Regions from separate parts of the Homo sapiens genome. Here regions 1 and 2 are each linked to region 3. Evidence: promoter capture Hi-C in 16 types of primary human blood cells and fetal thymus (Javierre and others, 2016). All regions are on one chromosome and are shown on one strand. Each heading gives the region's core, a stretch centred on a gene start or on the middle of the fragment in contact. The rest is flanking DNA. Distances are from core to core; before and after follow the strand shown.

The links. Contacts are between HindIII fragments. The CHiCAGO score rates a contact against its expected background, and 5 or more counts as called.
Region 1: a contact is called between a fragment that was not itself captured here and the fragment with the promoter of NKAIN2 in region 3, in 6 of 17 cell types (monocytes, M1 macrophages, M0 macrophages and 3 more). The highest score is 12.2, in monocytes.
Region 2: a contact is called between a fragment that was not itself captured here and the fragment with the promoter of NKAIN2 in region 3, in 2 of 17 cell types (M0 macrophages and endothelial precursors). The highest score is 7.7, in M0 macrophages.

Annotation. Positions count from the first base shown.
Region 1 is chr6:124,785,019-124,787,718 of GRCh38, reverse strand. The region is part of intron 4 of NKAIN2 (sodium/potassium transporting ATPase interacting 2); the gene reads right to left. Among named protein-coding and RNA genes, the nearest start is that of RNF217, 180 kb to the left of the region's middle. The HindIII fragment of the contact is 1,118 bases long and covers 775-1,892 here.
Region 2 is chr6:124,762,737-124,765,436 of GRCh38, reverse strand. The region is part of intron 4 of NKAIN2 (sodium/potassium transporting ATPase interacting 2); the gene reads right to left. Among named protein-coding and RNA genes, the nearest start is that of RNF217, 200 kb to the left of the region's middle. The HindIII fragment of the contact is 6,999 bases long and covers 1-2,700 here.
Region 3 is chr6:123,802,589-123,805,288 of GRCh38, reverse strand. It overlaps NKAIN2 (sodium/potassium transporting ATPase interacting 2), which reads right to left and starts at 1,424. Exons shown (of 7, transcript NM_001040214.3): 1 at 1,035-1,424. The coding sequence starts at 1,088. RefSeq lists an enhancer at 2,619-2,668. The HindIII fragment of the contact is 9,489 bases long and covers 1-2,700 here.

The sequences.
Region 1 (2,700 bases), core at 84-2,583, 980 kb before region 3:
AGCACCCCCTACAAAAGTATAACATTTTTCATGGGTCCAAATCCTTCCTGATGTGATACTTGTCTTCCTTTCTAGCCTCATCTCTCACCAATCCTTGTCAGAATTGATGTCAGTAGAAAGCTGTTGGTAGCTTGCTGACATCTATCAGGTAGCTTTCCTTCTCTGTTCCTTAACTCATTTTCCCAGTCTGCCAACAAAGAATGCTAATGCCCTGTACCTCTTCCTTCCCCTCCCTAGTCAGCCTTGCACCTCCAGTAATGAGTAATTCTAACTCATTCTTTTTTTGCATTTGTTTTTGAAAACAGAGTCCTGAGTTGCTAAGCTGGATATAAAGCTTTACATGGCAGTACTGCCTGCTTACTTCCCGGGTCTTCTTTTTAATTTTTTAATTCACTGTTATTTTAAGTTCTAGGGTTCATATGTAGGTTTGTTATACAGGTAAACTTGTGTCATGGGGGTTTGTTGTACAGATTATTTCATCTCCCGGTATTAAGCTGACCTTAAAGAATGAGTTAATATCCATCAGGAAAAACAACTAATGGACACTAATTCATTCTTTAAGGCTGAATAAAGGTGCTGCTTCCTCCAAGAACTGGTAATCCATTCTCGGAGTAGGTTGGTGCTTGGCACTTTTGAGATAGACCTTGAGAGGTGGGAGGGCTTGAAATGGAATAAAGAGGGGTACGGAGAGATGGAGAGTACATCTTCCAAGTGGAGTTTAGACTAGAGCTGGGAAGAAATAGGGAGGAGGAAGTGGCCCAGTTCAGAGAAGCTTGGGCTGTATAAAGGGAAGTAACACGGCACAAAGCAGATAATAGAGGCTCATGTTGTTAGAGTAGATATGAGTATCTTCAATTGAAAGAAAATAATTTTATTTTGTTCCTGATTTAAAGATGCTTAGAATAATAATGGAAGGGACCTGTGGCATTATCCTAGGCAAACACACAATTATCCACTAGTGAAAGAAATAAAATATTCTAGTTGTTTTAGTCTTTGTCATTCAAAGCAGAGCTAAGTATAATTTTTTTTTTATTTATCTTTTCACCTTCATGTATCTAATGTGATTTGTTCACTTCTAATTCACCTGGTAAGGAATTACATGTCATCTTGATATTATCACTGACTGGAAGGAAATGATATTTTCTCTGTATAACTAAATCAGATTAAAATTCTTTTTTGTATCCACAGACCAAATTATGATTGTATGTCCCAGAAATTCACTTAGAAGCTAATAGAAAAAATGAAACCAAAGCCTTTTGGTAAGTATTTTAAAAGATTTAATTGTAATAATTGAAAATATAGCAACCTTAGCGTTTAATCTATTACATTCTGGATTTCGGTTTCTGGGAAGTTGGAGCAATGGGAAGGATACCTTTCCCTATCTTTCCTATTAAGTATAACTAAAAACTCTGAACATTATATATATAACAATTACAAGAAGACTTTGAGGCAGACCAGCTATGGCCTTTGGTACTCAAAAAAGTACATGAGGGTGAATTCCATTATTATTATTATTTCATATACACCAGACTTACTTGGAGCTGAAGAAGCCTATAACTCTGAAATGCCAACAGGTACAGATTTTTTAAAAGCCCCAGTAAACCCTTGCTGTCTCTAGCCAAAAGACCAGAGAAAAGGGAAAAGGCAGCCTAGCAAGACAGAAAATTTTACAGTGATAGTACCTCTTTGTTTTAGCCAACACCATAGAAAACAGAACAAAACAAAACAAAAACACAAAAATTGTAGCCCCACTCCCCAACCACAGCAACAAAGAGTAGGGAGCCAAGACTTCCCCACTGCCTCATGAGTAAGTAATCCAGACTTTTAGCCTCACTCTCCAGTAACAAGGCAGACACTCTCTTCTCCCCACTGGGGTGATGTCAGTGGAAGCTTAGTAGAAGATCAGGACTTTTACCAATGCCCAGCAGTACTGAGGCCAGTCCGCCACCCCCATGGCATCAGTGAAAGCCACCTTGGAGCAGTAATAAGGCTCTTGCCAGATATGGAGCTATCAGTCAGAGGCTAGTGGGGGGCAGGACCTTCCACAGCCTCCCAAACTTAATGAAAAGCCCTTCCCACCTTAAGTCTCAATGGAGGCTAAGTGGGAACCCTGGACTTCTATCCCCAATTGGCAGAAATAAGTCAGCATCCCTCCTTCTCCCATCAAAACAGCATCAGAGGAATCAACTAAAATGAAAGGTTTAATTAAGATCTAGGGTCTCATAGCATAATACCCCAAATGTCCATGTTTCAATTAAAAATTACTAATCATACCAACAGTGAGGATGGCCTCAAACTGAATGAAAAGACAGCCAATGTAACCTAACCACAGAGGTGATAGAGATGTTAAGATTTTCTGACACATATTTTAGAGTAGACATCGCAAAAATGCTCCAATAAGCAATTACAAACATGCCTGAAATAAATTAAAATATTAGAAGGTCTCAGCAAAGAAACAGAATATATAAGGAAGAACCAAACTGAAAACTTAGAACTGAAAAATGTGGAGGTGACAGAGGAAAGAATCAGTGAACTTGAAGATTGAACAATAGAAATTACCTAAACTAAGAAACAGAGACAAAGTAAACTGGAAAACATGCACAGAGCCTCAGAGACTCATGGAAATAACAAAAGACCTAACTTTTTTTTCCCCCACTGGAGTCCTGAAGGAAAAGGAGAAGTAGGTCAGCACTGAAAAAG
Region 2 (2,700 bases), core at 191-2,690, 960 kb before region 3:
ATAAAACCAGGGACTGAACAGAGCCAAGAAAGAGCAAAACACACATTTCCTTCTTGATTGTTGAGGTCTCTCTGTAAATGCAGTGAAATCACTAAGGGAGGCTTTAAATATTGTTGGAAAACCTGGTCAGGGTCTCATTTGATAAAGCCATTGGAATTTCAGCAGGCTATTCATTGAGACTCTATTCTTACAGAACGGAGAGAAGCAGGTGCTTCCACTGCAACATGCTTTGATTGCATTTTTCTATTCACAGGTCATTTCAAAAGAATGTTACATGTTTCAGTGAGATCCAAATATCCAAATATTTAAGAAAATAATGATTAGAGTTAGCACTTAATACAGTAGCTTCCATCTGAGGGTCTTAGATATTATTTCATTATCTTTTAAAATATTATCTGGAGATTGCTTAAGTGGAAACAATATATTTATATTTTAAACCTAGTGGAACTTAGTTAAAGAACTCACCAAAAAGTTGAAAGCATTTAGGCATCCTTTTGATAAGTTCATTTGATATTCTGGATTTCACCTTAAAGTAACACAAATCAAGAGAATGAATAGGTTTTTTTTTGCATTAACATTTAATTGATAAAATTTTCCTTGGGATGCTTTACTCCTCTCAACCTGATTTCCTCCTGCCTGTTCTGACTCCAGGGTAAACAAAATAAAAGAATCCATTTATAGTCAACTTCAAGTGATAAGAAGCCATCTAGGAAGGCTCAAAGGTATCGACTCAAAGAAATATGATAAATACAGAAATAGATGGTTTAGTATTCAAAGCAAAAGCCTGAACACAGGTTTCTTAAAGCAAGGAGTGATAACAGAAGGCAGTTCTCCCTCCACCCCTAGACTGGAGTAATACTATAGACTCCTTCTAAGTTGTGGATTCTTAACCATTTTTATCCCATAGACTCTTCTGCCTGTCTCTTGTAGCTTACGGGCTGCTTCTCAGGATAGTTTTTCAAAGCATAAAACTAAATTCAACCAGTAAGATGAAACCAATTATCCAGAATTACAGTAATCAAAATATCTAAAAAATCATAACATTGACAAATATATTATTGGTGAATTTTTATTACCAATAAATAATGAGATCTGTCATCAGGTTTGATAACCCCCATAATTTTAAATTAGTGATAAGCATTAAAAAACTTTCAAGGTTTTCACAGTAATTGTAATGACCTATAAAAAATCTGCCTGTGTTGCCAATTTACTTTAAAGAGAAATGTTTTATTTCAGTTAGAAGTTAGTGAAAATAAAATATGCAATTATTTTCTCACCTCTGCTCAAGAACCCCATGTTAAGAACCTACAAATTAAAAAAGACTAGTTTCTTCCACTCCTCAGAATAAGTTCATAGATATCTAAAGAGCCAAAGACTATAGTTGGAGAAATACTGATATAAATAATGCAGAAGTGTCAGACTTTGTGAAGGGTGATCATAGGACCAAAGCAAACCACTGGTTTAGGTCCTTAAGAATATGTATATGAAAATTTCAGCTAAGTTTGGGGTCCAGTTATGACATAGGAAATGTTGAAACATTTGAGGGAAGCAAATGCTTTATAATACAGACTACTGTTAATATAGAGCTTATTTTATTTTTAAATTATATACACTTTAACTGACAAATAAAAACAGTATCTATGAATGTTGTTTAAAACACCATGTTTTAAAATATGTCTGTGGAATGGCTAAATCAATCTAGTTAACATATTTATTACCTTATATACTTATTTTTCATGTCGAGAACATTTAAAATCTGCTCTTTCAGCAGTTGTCAAGTAAACAACCCTTTATCAACTATAGTAACATGGGTTGGATTTGTGTCCCCACCCAAATCTCATGTTGAATTGTAATCCCAATGGTGAAGGTGGGGCCTGGTGGGAGATGATTGGATTATGGGGGCAGATTGCCCCCTTCGTGCTATTCTCCTGATAGTGACTGAGTTCTTGTGAGATGTGGTTGTTTAAAAGTGTGTGGCACCTCCCTCCATCTCTTGCTCCTGCTCCAGCTGTGTAAGAAGTGCCTCATTCCCTCTTTGCGTCTGCCATGACTGGCAGTTATCTGAGGCCTCCCCAGAAGTAGAAGCTGCTATGCTTCCTGTGCAGCCTGCAGAACTGTGAGCCAATTAAACCTCTTTTCTTTGTAAATAACCCAGTCTCACATATTTCTTTATAGCAGTGCAAGAACTAATATTATACATATAGTCACCATGTTGTACAATAGATCTCTTGAATTTATTCCTTCTGTCTAACTAAAAGTTTGAATGTTTTGGCTAAACAGCTCCCCAATCACCCTGCTTTCCCCCAACCCCATTTTACTCTCTGCTTCTATAAGTTCAACTTTTTTAGATTCTGCGTATAAGTGAGACATGGTGTTTGACTTTCTGTGCCTGGCCTATTGCACTTAGCATAATGTTCTCCAGGTTTACCCATTTTCAACACTGAACAGTACATGCAAACAAAAGAACTATCAAGAGCACTTTGACTTTAATTCTTTCCTGTCACTGACAGAATAAAATCCAAATTCCTCAGATTTACAGTGAAGTTCTACTTACCTTTTCTAGTCTGAAATCCCTCTAGACTTCTTCTTACCCAGGGGCACCCCTGCTCCTGCTCCTGCAAACCAACGCTCTCCGATAGTCAACATTCCAGCCAGATCAATTCTCTATTCTTTAATGAGTCCTTTGTTTTCCTGCCACTG
Region 3 (2,700 bases), core at 175-2,674:
AACATCTTCTGCCTTGTAGTCACTTCAACCTTTATGAAACAGTTGTTGAAAACGGACATGACTATTCCAGTTAATTTATACTTTCTAAGGAAATATATTTAATGACAAGTGTGAGCAAGTAGCTCCTACCTCAAATTAACCACTTAGAGTGGTGTATTTTTCACCTCTCAACTCTCTACTCAGACCCTCCTTCCATTGCCCTTAGGGAATTGAAATTCAGAGACATGACGTTTTCCATTATTGGTTCCTTGCCCCTTTGCAACTGTACAACATTCCTCAAAAAGTACATAGAATTCTCCATCCTATAGGATCAGACAACAGTATCTATTTCAGGAGCAATAATATGCATAATGTAAGACAGAATAGTTTTTCTTGGAATTGTCTGTGTTAATTGTGATTTAAAGGTTACTGGTTCCGTCTATGACAATGGTGTTGCTGAGTTCACCTAAGTATTTTTGTTCAATCTGCATACTTTAAAAACTCAATGTGGCTAAAACTCAAACAGTCTAAATTAGACTGTTGTAAGGATACCATGTGCCCTAAACAGTGGTTTTTTTAGAGCATTATACTTAAAGACAACATTTTCCTTAAAAAAAGAAAAAAAACATGTCTATGAAGAAACAAAGATACTGCAAAATTAGTATAGAGAAGAAAAGTCCAAAATTCCGTATTCCTCTGTTTAACAACCTGTACGGTAAATTGTAGGTGACAATCACGTTGTTACATGAATAGGAATGCAAAGCATAAAGAACAAGAGCTACATCTTGCTTTTCCTAAAGAAATTAAAGACAAGTTTAACCCGCACCTGCCAAACTGTCTTAAAAGGGACAGAAATAGGTGGGAACGGAAAGGCTCACCTCTCCTGTACCCCAGAGTGCGTCTCCCTGAAATCATCTTCAATATAGGCAATATATCTGTCACCTTCTCTTTTATCTTTTTCGTCCATTCTAGTCAATGGCAGACCCTTTGCTGCACTCCCCTGCCCACTATCTCAAAGACACATTACAGAATAAGGGGACCCAAGTGTCACTTACCAGTTGCATGCCACAGATAAAGATAAGCGTGCACCTGCCACTGCAATAACCCATGGTTTCCGAGACCCCTGCCACAGCCAGACTGTCCCACGTCGGCCACCGTCGAGCCCCCACTTTATCCAATCAGATCGCGGGGAAGGACACGCAAACCTGCCGAGGGCTCGGGGGCTCCGGGCTGCTGCTGCTGCCAGCGTCCTGGGAAGTGACAGGCATTAGGACCTGCTGGCGCGGCGGCGGCGGCGGCGGCAGCTCCAGCCGCGCCCGCCACACATACCTTCACTCGCTCGGTGCACACGCCGCGCCGCGGGCAGTGCCGCCTGCGGAGGCGCGCTCGGGGCCCGCAGGGGCAGCAGCGGCAGCCTGGCAGCGCCGCCGCGCCCTCGGGCATCTGGCCCGCGAAGTTTCGCCCCTGCCGCTCTCCGCGCCGCTCGCCTCACGCCCCCCAGCGCGGCCGCCGCCCGACGCGCGCTCGCCCTGCGCTCGCCGCGCGCCGGCTCCGGGGGCGGCAGAAGCGCGCGAGGGCCGCTGCCCGCCTCCCTGCGCAGCCCGCGGCTCCTAGGCACCCTGCGTTGCTGGGCCCGGCGGGCGGGGGTGGGGCGGGGAGCGGGGCGCGGGCCGAGCGGGGGCGTCCCGGCTCCGCGGTCCCCGGCGGCTGCTGCAGCGGCTGCTGCGCGCAATGATGCGGGTCCGCGCCGCGTCCCAGCAGCGGCGCTGCCCCTCCCTTCGCCCAGATGTGTGAATCCTCCTCCTACAACAAATCCTTCATCCTGCTCCCTGCCGCCCCCTCCCAGGGGGCCAACTTTGAGGACCGCAGGGGCTGCCGCCCAGGCGGCCGCAGGCGGCGGTGTCTAGGCGGAAAGGAGCGGCGCGAAAGCGGCGGCGGCGGGGACCGGGGCCTCGGGGCGAGGAGTCTGGGCGGCATGACCGCGGTTTGCTGAGCTGAAGTCGGTCGTGCTCCCAGAGCCACTCCGCGGGAGCGAACCGAGTGTGTGTGTGCGCGCGCGCTCGGGGGAGAAGGGACCAAGAGGAGGGTTAGGGAAGGAAGCTGGGGTCATGGAACAGGGGTGCAACCGAGGCATCCAGAGCGGCCGGAAAGCCCGAGTGGCGGAGAGGCCAGAGGTGGCGAGAAGGGGCGCGGCGGCACCGGACGCACCGCCCAGCACCTGGCTCCCCTGGGCTCCCGAGGATCTGAAGGGTCGGAGCGCGGAGAGCTACGGAGCCGACCCTGCTTGGGGAAGGGGACCGAGTTGCTGCTGGAGTTGGGAAAAATTAGCAACCGGAGGGAATAGGGATGCAATGAGTTGCTGTTGCTGCTTCAAACTGTTGTTTGTTTTCACTTAAAATACTAAAGAGTCGGAGACTAGTTTAATACTCAGTTACTTCAGCTTCACAGCAGTCCCAGCTGGGTGTGGATTCCTAGTGGAGATGCACCAGCCTCCGCTGAGCACCGGCCTGAAAGCTGTGAAGCGGCTGCTACCTGCAGAGACAGGCTTCGGAGCCCGCTGCTGCCACCTGCGGGCGGAAAGCTGAAGGGCGCAACATGCTGGCCCAAGTGGCTGCCCCTGGGGCGTGGATATTTAGGACCAAGTTTCCTTTTTAGCCCTGGCAGCTAAGGAAAGCAATCCTAACTTTTCCAGGAAGTGAAGATTATTTGTTGAGATCCACT